Regions from separate parts of the Homo sapiens genome. Here region 2 is linked to region 1. Evidence: promoter capture Hi-C in 16 types of primary human blood cells and fetal thymus (Javierre and others, 2016). All regions are on one chromosome and are shown on one strand. The core of a region is centred on a gene start or on the middle of the fragment in contact, and the rest is flanking DNA. Distances in the headings are between cores, read along the strand shown. Region 1 holds the start of SUN3 (Sad1 and UNC84 domain containing 3). Region 2 overlaps TNS3 (tensin 3).

Region 1 (4,338 bases), core at 583-3,082:
TGCATGTGAATATCTACTTTTCCCAGCACCATTCATTGAAGAGACTACAGTGTCCTTTCCTTATTGTGTACACCTGACAAACTTATCAATGATTAGTTGGCTGTATATGTGCGGATTTATTCTTGAAAAATACACATAGACTTTGACCCAGAAGTTCCTCCTCTGGGTATATATCCTTAAAGATATATTCACACATATGGATAATAACTTAAATACAAGATTACTATTGCACATTATTTTAAATACCAAACTGCCCATCAATATGAGACAGGCTAAATAGCCTATGGCCCATTCACCCAATGAAACACTATTCAGTCATAAATAAATGAGGAAGATTATCTCAAACAATCAAAACAACTTCCAAGATACATGTTTAAGGGAAAGAAGCAAGATGCAGAGCACAGTTTATAGTAAGCTACCATTAGGAATGTGGAGAGATAAATATACCTATAAAATATTACATATATAATACAATGTCACATACTGTGCATGTGTATCACATCTTTGAAAGGAAATACTATAAATGGTAGCATAGATGCTAAAAGAGAGGGGAACCAATAGCTAGAAGGCAGATGCCGGGTGGAAAGGCCATATTTGCTGTGTACCATTTTGTAACTTTCGAATTTTGGACTAGTAGGTAAAAAAGTAGAAACTTGGGGGTTTCTTGGTATAAATCTAAGCTTTCAGAAAATAAGTAGTAAATTGAAAAATAACACTTACAAATTCACCCAGAAATCAGCATAAGTAAAAAGAGAAAAAAGCAAAAACAAATATGAAGGAGCAGTTGAACGGAAAGCAAAAGGGAGACACAAGTGTCAATAGGTGGACCATTCTAAGAAAATTGAGGCAGTGGCAGAGAAGCAATATTTGAAGCCCTGATGGCTGAAAAATAGTCCAGAACTGAAAAAACACACAAGTACCCAAATTGAAAAGACTCTCTGAGTTATAAGTGAGGAAAAACAAAAACTAGTATCAAACCTGGATACACTAAAATACAACTGGAAAATATGGATAAACAGAAAATCTTAAAAACTACGCGAGAAATTGCCAAAAAAAACAGAGAAATGAAGATAAGACAGAATTCTCATCAACAACAATCAATCCACAAGGCCATGGAGTAGTATCTCCAAAGTGCTGAGAGTGAAATGACTGTCATCGTAGAATTTATGCCCCAAATAAACCAGCTCATCCTTCCACCTAACTATTCTGTTTCTAGGTGTATGTTTAGAAAAACCTTGTGATGTGCATATAACAACGTGCAATGAGCATTATTCCTTGCCAAAAAAACTGAAAACAACCTAAGCATACATTTACAGAAGGATGGGTAAATGAATTGTGATGTATGTATAATGAAATACCATAGAGCAATTAAAATGAGTGGAGTTAATGTCTCAAGATAAATAATATTGTAAGAAAACCTAGAGTGGCATAACATTTAGTTTATGTTTTAAGCATGAAAATGGTATTATTTATAGATACAGATTTACATAGTAAAGTATCAAAAATAATGAGAATAGAGTATATCAATTTTCAGGTTGTAGTTATCTGTGGAAAATAAGAGTGCTGAGATTCAGGGATACTTGGGGGTCTACTATTATATTTCTGATATTTTCTTTATTAGAAAAGCACTGAAGCAAACACAGCAAAACATCCAGATTTGCTATCGAAAAGCGGTAGGTACATGGGGGGGCCTTTGTATTATTCAGTGGGTGTGACATATGGTACAATTAGGCCCTTGAAGCAGAGAGGTGGTTGCCTGTCCATGCCCTGGCTGGGCGTGGTGGCCATCTGCATTATGAGGTGTCACGGAGGATGATGCAACAGAAGAATCAGAAGCTTTTCAAAATTCCGTCTTCAAGAAGAAACACCCGTGGAGGAAGAAGACATTATACAAAACAAATTTAGAAACTGTATGTATAGCTTCATGTTTTTCATAAAATAGGAATGAGGACAAATGTTGCTCTTCATCCTACCAGCTGTTTGTTCTTTGGTAGGGGATCATGAGTGGAAAAACAAAGGCAAGAAGGGCTGCCATGTTTTTTAGACGTTGCTCTGAAGACGCCAGCGGTAGCGCCAGTGGCAATGCTTTGTTATCAGAGGACGAAAATCCTGATGCGAATGGGTAGGTAAACATGGCAGAACGGTGTGCCTGAAATTGTAGGTTTTATGTGTTACATCTGTCACTTGTGTCTGTTCATCTGTTACCTGTTACCCGACAGTATTTTCTCCCTTTATAGAGAAAATCATTTTCAATAGTTTCCTTTGAAGGTTTCTCTTCATCACAGTCTTACACTTGATCACAATACTTCTATGTCAACGGTATCTGGATTAATAACAGCAGACTTGGGAGAAGGATTAAGAAAGGAGAGCCACCCTCTTTAAAAGAATGAGCCACAGCAGCAGGAACTTAAAAGCTTCCAGATAATTCACTTTTTTTTTTTTTTTTTTTTTTTTTTTTTGTCATTGGGCTAGCTTGTATAGTCTTGGTGGTATGCAGAGCTTAGCACCGGGCTCAGGACTCTGGGCACAGAGTGGCATTTATTACATTCTTGGGTGATAATTGACTAAAGACTCTGGTAGGGGATGCACATTTTGAGTGAATCACCCTGTTTCCTCTAGTGAGAACATATGTGGGGATTATTATAGCAGGGAATCCAAATACCCTAAACCTATTTACAAACGCCCTGCCCATGTGCTGCCTGCTGGGAAAACAAAAACTACAAGTAATGAAATAACCTTCCTATTGGTAACAATGAAGCACTTGCACAGAACAAAACTGTCAATAAAAATAAAAGGAATGCTACAAAGTTATTAGTACAAGTAGAGCAGCATTTCAAAATCACAGTAATAACAAAATATGCTTGCCCCAAATGGCAGAATCCCACTGGCTGGGTGAAGGCACCGAAGGAATTTTGCAATGCAGAGCCTGGCAGCCAGTTTTCTAGTGAAAAACAAAAAACGAAAAACACTGGAGTTAATCTTTGGTAAATATGGTAATGTGATAATTTTCACTTAATGCAGCCCACCAAAAGAGCTCTTGTAGACCATAACTGACCTATGAACAACTTTTTTAATACAGTGGACCCCCTACCACTCTCCACATCTCCAATAATAGTTAAAAGGAAGAGGTTCCAGAATACACTTCCCTGGAGGGGAAGAGAGTTAAGAAAATTCTCTTCTTAGTTGGTTTCCACACTGTCACACTCTTGGATGGCTAATAGGTATGACTGCTTTATGTAGGGTAGATAAGCTACTTAAAGATTCTGTACTGGGAGAATTAGGCGGCCCACTCTAGTGAATACAGTTAATGAATGGTCCATCTTAATGTGATTTTTCTTATGTTTTAAGTAGAAATTTTTAGTTTGCCAACTTGTAATACTTTATCCGGAAGTTTATAGCCTTCACGTTAGATTAATGTGATCATTTTAGCTTCCCTCCCCATCCACCCTTTAGGGCTTTTTAAAAGGTTAGATGTGAAAAGGTTGTCATTACAACCACTTTGTAACACTGAGCAAAATCTACTGCAACGGATTATGCATGTATCCTATGACCCATCAATGTCTCTCTTGAAAATACACTTAAATGAAATACATACTTGTCTTCATCAGAAACCATGTACAAGAATGTTCATAGCTGCATTGCTTGTAGTAATATTTATAACTGCATTGTTTATCATAGCCCCAAACACCCATCAATGTTAGGATGGATACCCACATGATATATTCACACAATGAAATACTACACAGTTATAAGAATGAATGAACCACAACTATACACAACAGCACAGTTGACTCTCACAGACTTAAGACTGGGAACAGGAGGCAGACAGATAGAGCCCATACCCACATGGGTCCATTTATAGATGGTTCAAACCCAGACAAACCTACTTAATGGGGATAGAGCTCAGGAGAGCAGGTACCTTTGGAGGTGGGAGGTATAGGGTTGATAAGGGCATAAGATGGGCTTCTGATGGGCTTGGTATATTCATCTGCTCGGGCTGCAATAATAAATACCACAGACTGGGTGGCTGAAACAACAGAAATTTACTTTTTTTAACAGTTTTGGAGGCTGGGAAGTCCAAGGTTCCAGCTGATTTGGTCTCTAGCGAGGGCTCTCTTCCTGGATTGCCTTCTCACTGTGTCCCCATGTGACCTTTCTTCTGACTGCACAAAGAGAGAAAAAGTTCTGGTCTCTCTTCCACCTCTTCTAAGGACAACAATCCTGCTAGTTTAGAGTCCCACTCATAACCTCTTTTACCCTTAATTAGCAATTAAAGACCCTATCTCTAAATACAGTAACAATGATGGTAGGGCTTCAACAAATGAATGTGTGTGTGTG
Region 2 (4,338 bases), core at 1,044-3,543, 740 kb after region 1:
GTAGGATCTTCTAGCATCCAGAATTCCAGCATAAGAAGCCCAACACGATGCTATTTCTGAGTGGAGATAAGGGCTTTTGTAGCTGGAGAGCTGAATTAGACCTGATTGTTGAGGACTGAAACTGAATAATGATGATGGCAGGAAAGAGGGTCGCAGGACCAAGAGCATCTGGCGAGTCTGCAGAGATGAGAGATTATTGGGAGAGGAGGAATGATGGATGGTTTTGGTTGGCTCCTTCGTTTCCGTGTAAAGTTTTAAAGCAAGGACAAATAACATTTCTGCATGCATTATCTTTTTGGAATCTAGATGAGAGTATATAACTGTTTTTACCTCTGTGCGTGCATCCTGCCTCTCTGACAGACTTTGGACTCAATCTTAAGATGAAAGGAACAAAATAGGGGATATTAGAATAGCAGACTTGAGGAAACCGAGTGTTGTTGGTGGCCTCTGGGTGAAATCTTATCTGACTGCTGTGTCTTCATCTTGTCCCTGGATTTGACATTCAGATTTCACAATCCAAGGATAGATTTGAGCAAAGAGTTTACCAGGTCATAAAGAGCCACAACCATTCACCATACCACCTCCAGTAAACTGGAGATGGGACAGCTAGGGACGTTCTGGATGCTGTTCTCCAGAGAGCCCTGGCCAGAAGGACTTCCCACTGAGCCATTTCTCACAAGTGGAATCCAGACCCACGCTTGGTGTCCCCTTCAGTTTGGAAGCCAGGCGTCATTTTCTTCCCACAACTGAATGTCAATATGTTCTTATCCCACTTTAATTCAACACAGCCTTTTATGGAATCTGATCATTTCCTTTTCTGCAAGCTTTACTGCCCTTGTGAAATGCTGACACAGTGATATTTGTCATGTTTATAAACATCTTTTGGAAGCCTACTGTGGGCAAGGCACTGGGGACCAAGCCCAACTCCAGTGGATCTTGCTGCCAGGAGGTTTCCAACACCAGAAATATTAGAAGTTTAGGCAGACATGCCCCAATGGAGGGTGATGAAGGAAGCACTGGATCCCAGAAATACAGCACACTGTGAAGGTCTGTTGGACTCATTAGCATAGGGCAGTGACTTCTTGTTCTTTTGGTTGTGCTGTTTGTACTTTTCCACTCTCAGATAGTTTTGCCATTCAGTGGCTTTTTATGATGTGTTTTCTCTTTGGACTCATGGGCTGGCCTAAAGCAGATGCACTGTTTACTGTTAATAGCAATGTGGTAGAGTGCTGCTCCCGTGCAGCTGAGTGCTTGCTTTCTGGAAGGTTTTAAAGATCCAGGCTCCTGGTTAAATCCCACCCAGAAGACTGACCTCCTTCCAGCTCTTTTCAGTGATTCATTATAGGTATCATTTTGTGTCTGAGCCTTTCTCACCTCTCCTCTTTGGGAGAGGATTCAGCTGGAGATTCATGATCCTCTTTCTTAGCTGCAAGCTCATTCCCTTCGTTGGGGATTCTTGCACAATGTTTGAGGGCCTCTCCCAAGGGACCTCTCCAGCCCCCACACTGTCATTGCAAGGGTTCCCGCCCTGTATCTGGCCTAGCCTGTGCTCATCCAGCTGTCCTGCAGCCCGGCTACCATTCCTAGGACGAAGATGGTTCTTGGCAGCCTCTTTTGCAGTGACTGGACTCGTATTCAGAGAAGAGCCTTTTCAACTGTAGCTCCTGGCTTTTATGTTCTCTCTATTGAATTCTCCCATGCTCCCATTTTCAAAAAATTCTTCTTTCTTTAAATTTCTTGCCACAGCTGGAGATTTGGCCAATGAACTCGTCCGGCACTTTTTGATCGAGTGTACCCCGAAGGGAGTGCGGTTGAAAGGGTGCTCGAATGAACCATATTTCGGTGAGTTGCTTGAGAGGTTGCTGTCAATGTTCTGAACTCATGAGGCCTGGATTCCCTCTGCTCACCAACCTGAGATTTGGGACTATCACTCTTATGGTGGTTTACTCATATTTCAGTCCCCAGTTCTGAAATCCTGCTGATCTGCATTATTATCTTTAAGATAAACTAGATTTGAAGTTGTTCTTAAAAGCTCTGTCAAAACCAAACAAATGAAAAGCACCATATCAGACGTAGGAATTACAGACGTCAATAAGATTCTATCCTAGTTGGCAGGCAGGTAAGTCCTGAGAAGGTTGGAGCTCCAGCATGACCCTATCCCACAGCACAAGGAACAACATAGAGCTCCCAACAGAGCACCCTCCCTTCCCTGCAAATTGGGAGCCTTCCCTACCTCACGAGCTTGTTGGAAAGATGACTTGAGCAATCCACACAAAGCACAGTGCAGCCTTAGGCATCATTGTTATTAGAGCTTTGTTAAGAAGCATTGTGCAGGGGTAATATATATGGTTGAAGTTGGAGTTGGCTTGATGTCAACCCTCCTGATTCAAGATCCAACAAACTGTATGCTTTAGTCTTTATATAATTTGGTAATGATGTGTCTATGATAAGAATGATAAACAGTTCCATTTACTTACCTCTCAACTATCTTGTGGAACTTTATACTTCTTTGAAGTTTTACACAAAGCTGCACACTAATCTAACATACCAGTTGCTAAAAAGATAAGGGCTCAGCCTTTGCATCCGTTTCATTCCAGCTGATAAATTGGCTGAGCACACAACATCTACAGCAGTTGTTGACTCTTGTTTGCTGTCTGTCCACTTTGCAGGGAGCCTGACGGCCTTGGTGTGCCAGCATTCCATCACGCCCTTGGCCTTGCCGTGCAAGCTGCTTATCCCAGAGAGAGGTAAGGGGTCCTCAGTGCTAGTCAGGCTCTGTGTAGATTGTCTGCAGTCAAGGCCACCGGTTTTAGAGATCCATGAAGATCCACTGAGAAAAATAATAAGACTGGAAGTTTTTTCGTATTCTCTTGGTTGAACCCAAGAAAAGGCCAATGAGTTCATCCAAATTAAGGAGAGAAGAGGAGATTCTACTTCACTGACAGCTCCCAGATAGCTTTACATCATGGATTTTGATGAAAGATTTCTATAGAGCAAAGATTCTGTAGTTTAAAAATATAAAACCCTCAGACAAAGAAGGCTTCAGGGTCATTGACATTTAATTTTTACGTTTCTACGGAATGGGCAAAATGTTGATGTTGTTGAACTTAGATGATGGATGCACTGTTCTTTTTACTTTTATGTTTGTTAAACAATATCCATAATGAAATTAAATAACACCCACAGCATGTCAGGGCGATGTGACCGTATGTCCCACTTTCCTAAGCAGTCACAACTTCACATAAAAATGGTCTAACTTAATATATAGGTAAATGTGATTTACTTTTCAAAGTGTCATTGTTCATATGACTAATTCGGTGATTAGAAAAATATTTTGTTAGGCCTTGTCATCTCTACTTTTATTCAGAATGTGATCATGGTTTCTATGGGCCAAATTATTGTCCCAAAGAGAAACTCTTGACTCTGCAAAACCATTGCATGTCACCATCTGGGAATTCTGTCATCAAATTGTCTAACTTTGTCATGAGGATTCTTGGTCAGGAGCAGGACTCATTTCTGTATTTTCTTGCCCCTTCCTACAGATCCATTGGAGGAAATAGCAGAAAGTTCTCCCCAGACGGCAGCCAATTCAGCAGCTGAGCTGTTGAAGCAGGGGGCAGGTCAGTAAATGCAGCTCCATTTCTACATCTGGTGACTGGGGAGAAAAAGGACTCACTGACACAACTTCCTTTTGCACTTCAGTATTCAGGTTTCCTTTCTTTTCTGTGAGCCTTGAAGGAGGTTTCCTTTTATAGAAGCTTGCACAGAGCTGGGTGGGGTGCAGTTGTTGGGACATCAGCAAGGCCTTCATGGGCCGGTCTAACTCAAGCAAGACTAAATTCAGTGGAATAAATGTCAAGCCCTGGATTTAGTTTGGGGGAAAATATAGTAAGACAGGATGTGGGTGATCTGTCTCGGCAACTGTAAATGTAAAAATGTTCCAGAGACATGACTCAACAAGTCACTTGACATGAGTCAATGATTTGACCCACACTGCCAGCAACCCCAGTGAGACATACAACACCCAAGAACCAGCTCGCCAGACAGAGCAGGTCACTTAAAAAAATTATTCATAGAGTTTCTTTTTTAGAGCAGTGACAGATTCACAGCAAAATGGAGAAGAAGGTACAGAGATACACCATATACACGCATAGCCTCCCCGCTGTCAACATCCCCCAGCAAAGTGATGCACATGTTATGGTTGATGAACCTGCATTAACACAGCCTCGTCACCTGAGTCCCTAGTTTAGGGACTTGATATTTAGGTTCACCTTGATGTCATGCATTCTACAGGTTTGGACAAATGCATAATGACAGGTAATCACCGTTACAGTATCA

What was found. Contacts are between HindIII fragments. The CHiCAGO score rates a contact against its expected background, and 5 or more counts as called.
Region 2: a contact is called between a fragment that was not itself captured here and the fragment with the promoter of SUN3 in region 1, in 1 of 17 cell types (naive B cells). The highest score is 5.7, in naive B cells.

What each region holds. Positions count from the first base shown.
Region 1 is chr7:48,026,601-48,030,938 of GRCh38, reverse strand. It overlaps SUN3 (Sad1 and UNC84 domain containing 3), which reads left to right and starts at 1,832. Exons shown (of 10, transcript NM_001030019.2): 1 at 1,832-2,122. The coding sequence starts at 2,001. RefSeq lists an enhancer at 1,442-2,641. The HindIII fragment of the contact is 1,156 bases long and covers 683-1,838 here.
Region 2 is chr7:47,291,237-47,295,574 of GRCh38, reverse strand. It overlaps TNS3 (tensin 3), which reads left to right. Exons shown (of 31, transcript NM_022748.12): 25 at 1,747-1,842; 26 at 2,670-2,747; 27 at 3,543-3,620. Among named protein-coding and RNA genes, the nearest start is that of SNORD151, 170 kb to the left of the region's middle. RefSeq lists enhancers at 1,313-2,512, 3,736-4,095. The HindIII fragment of the contact is 2,934 bases long and covers 827-3,760 here.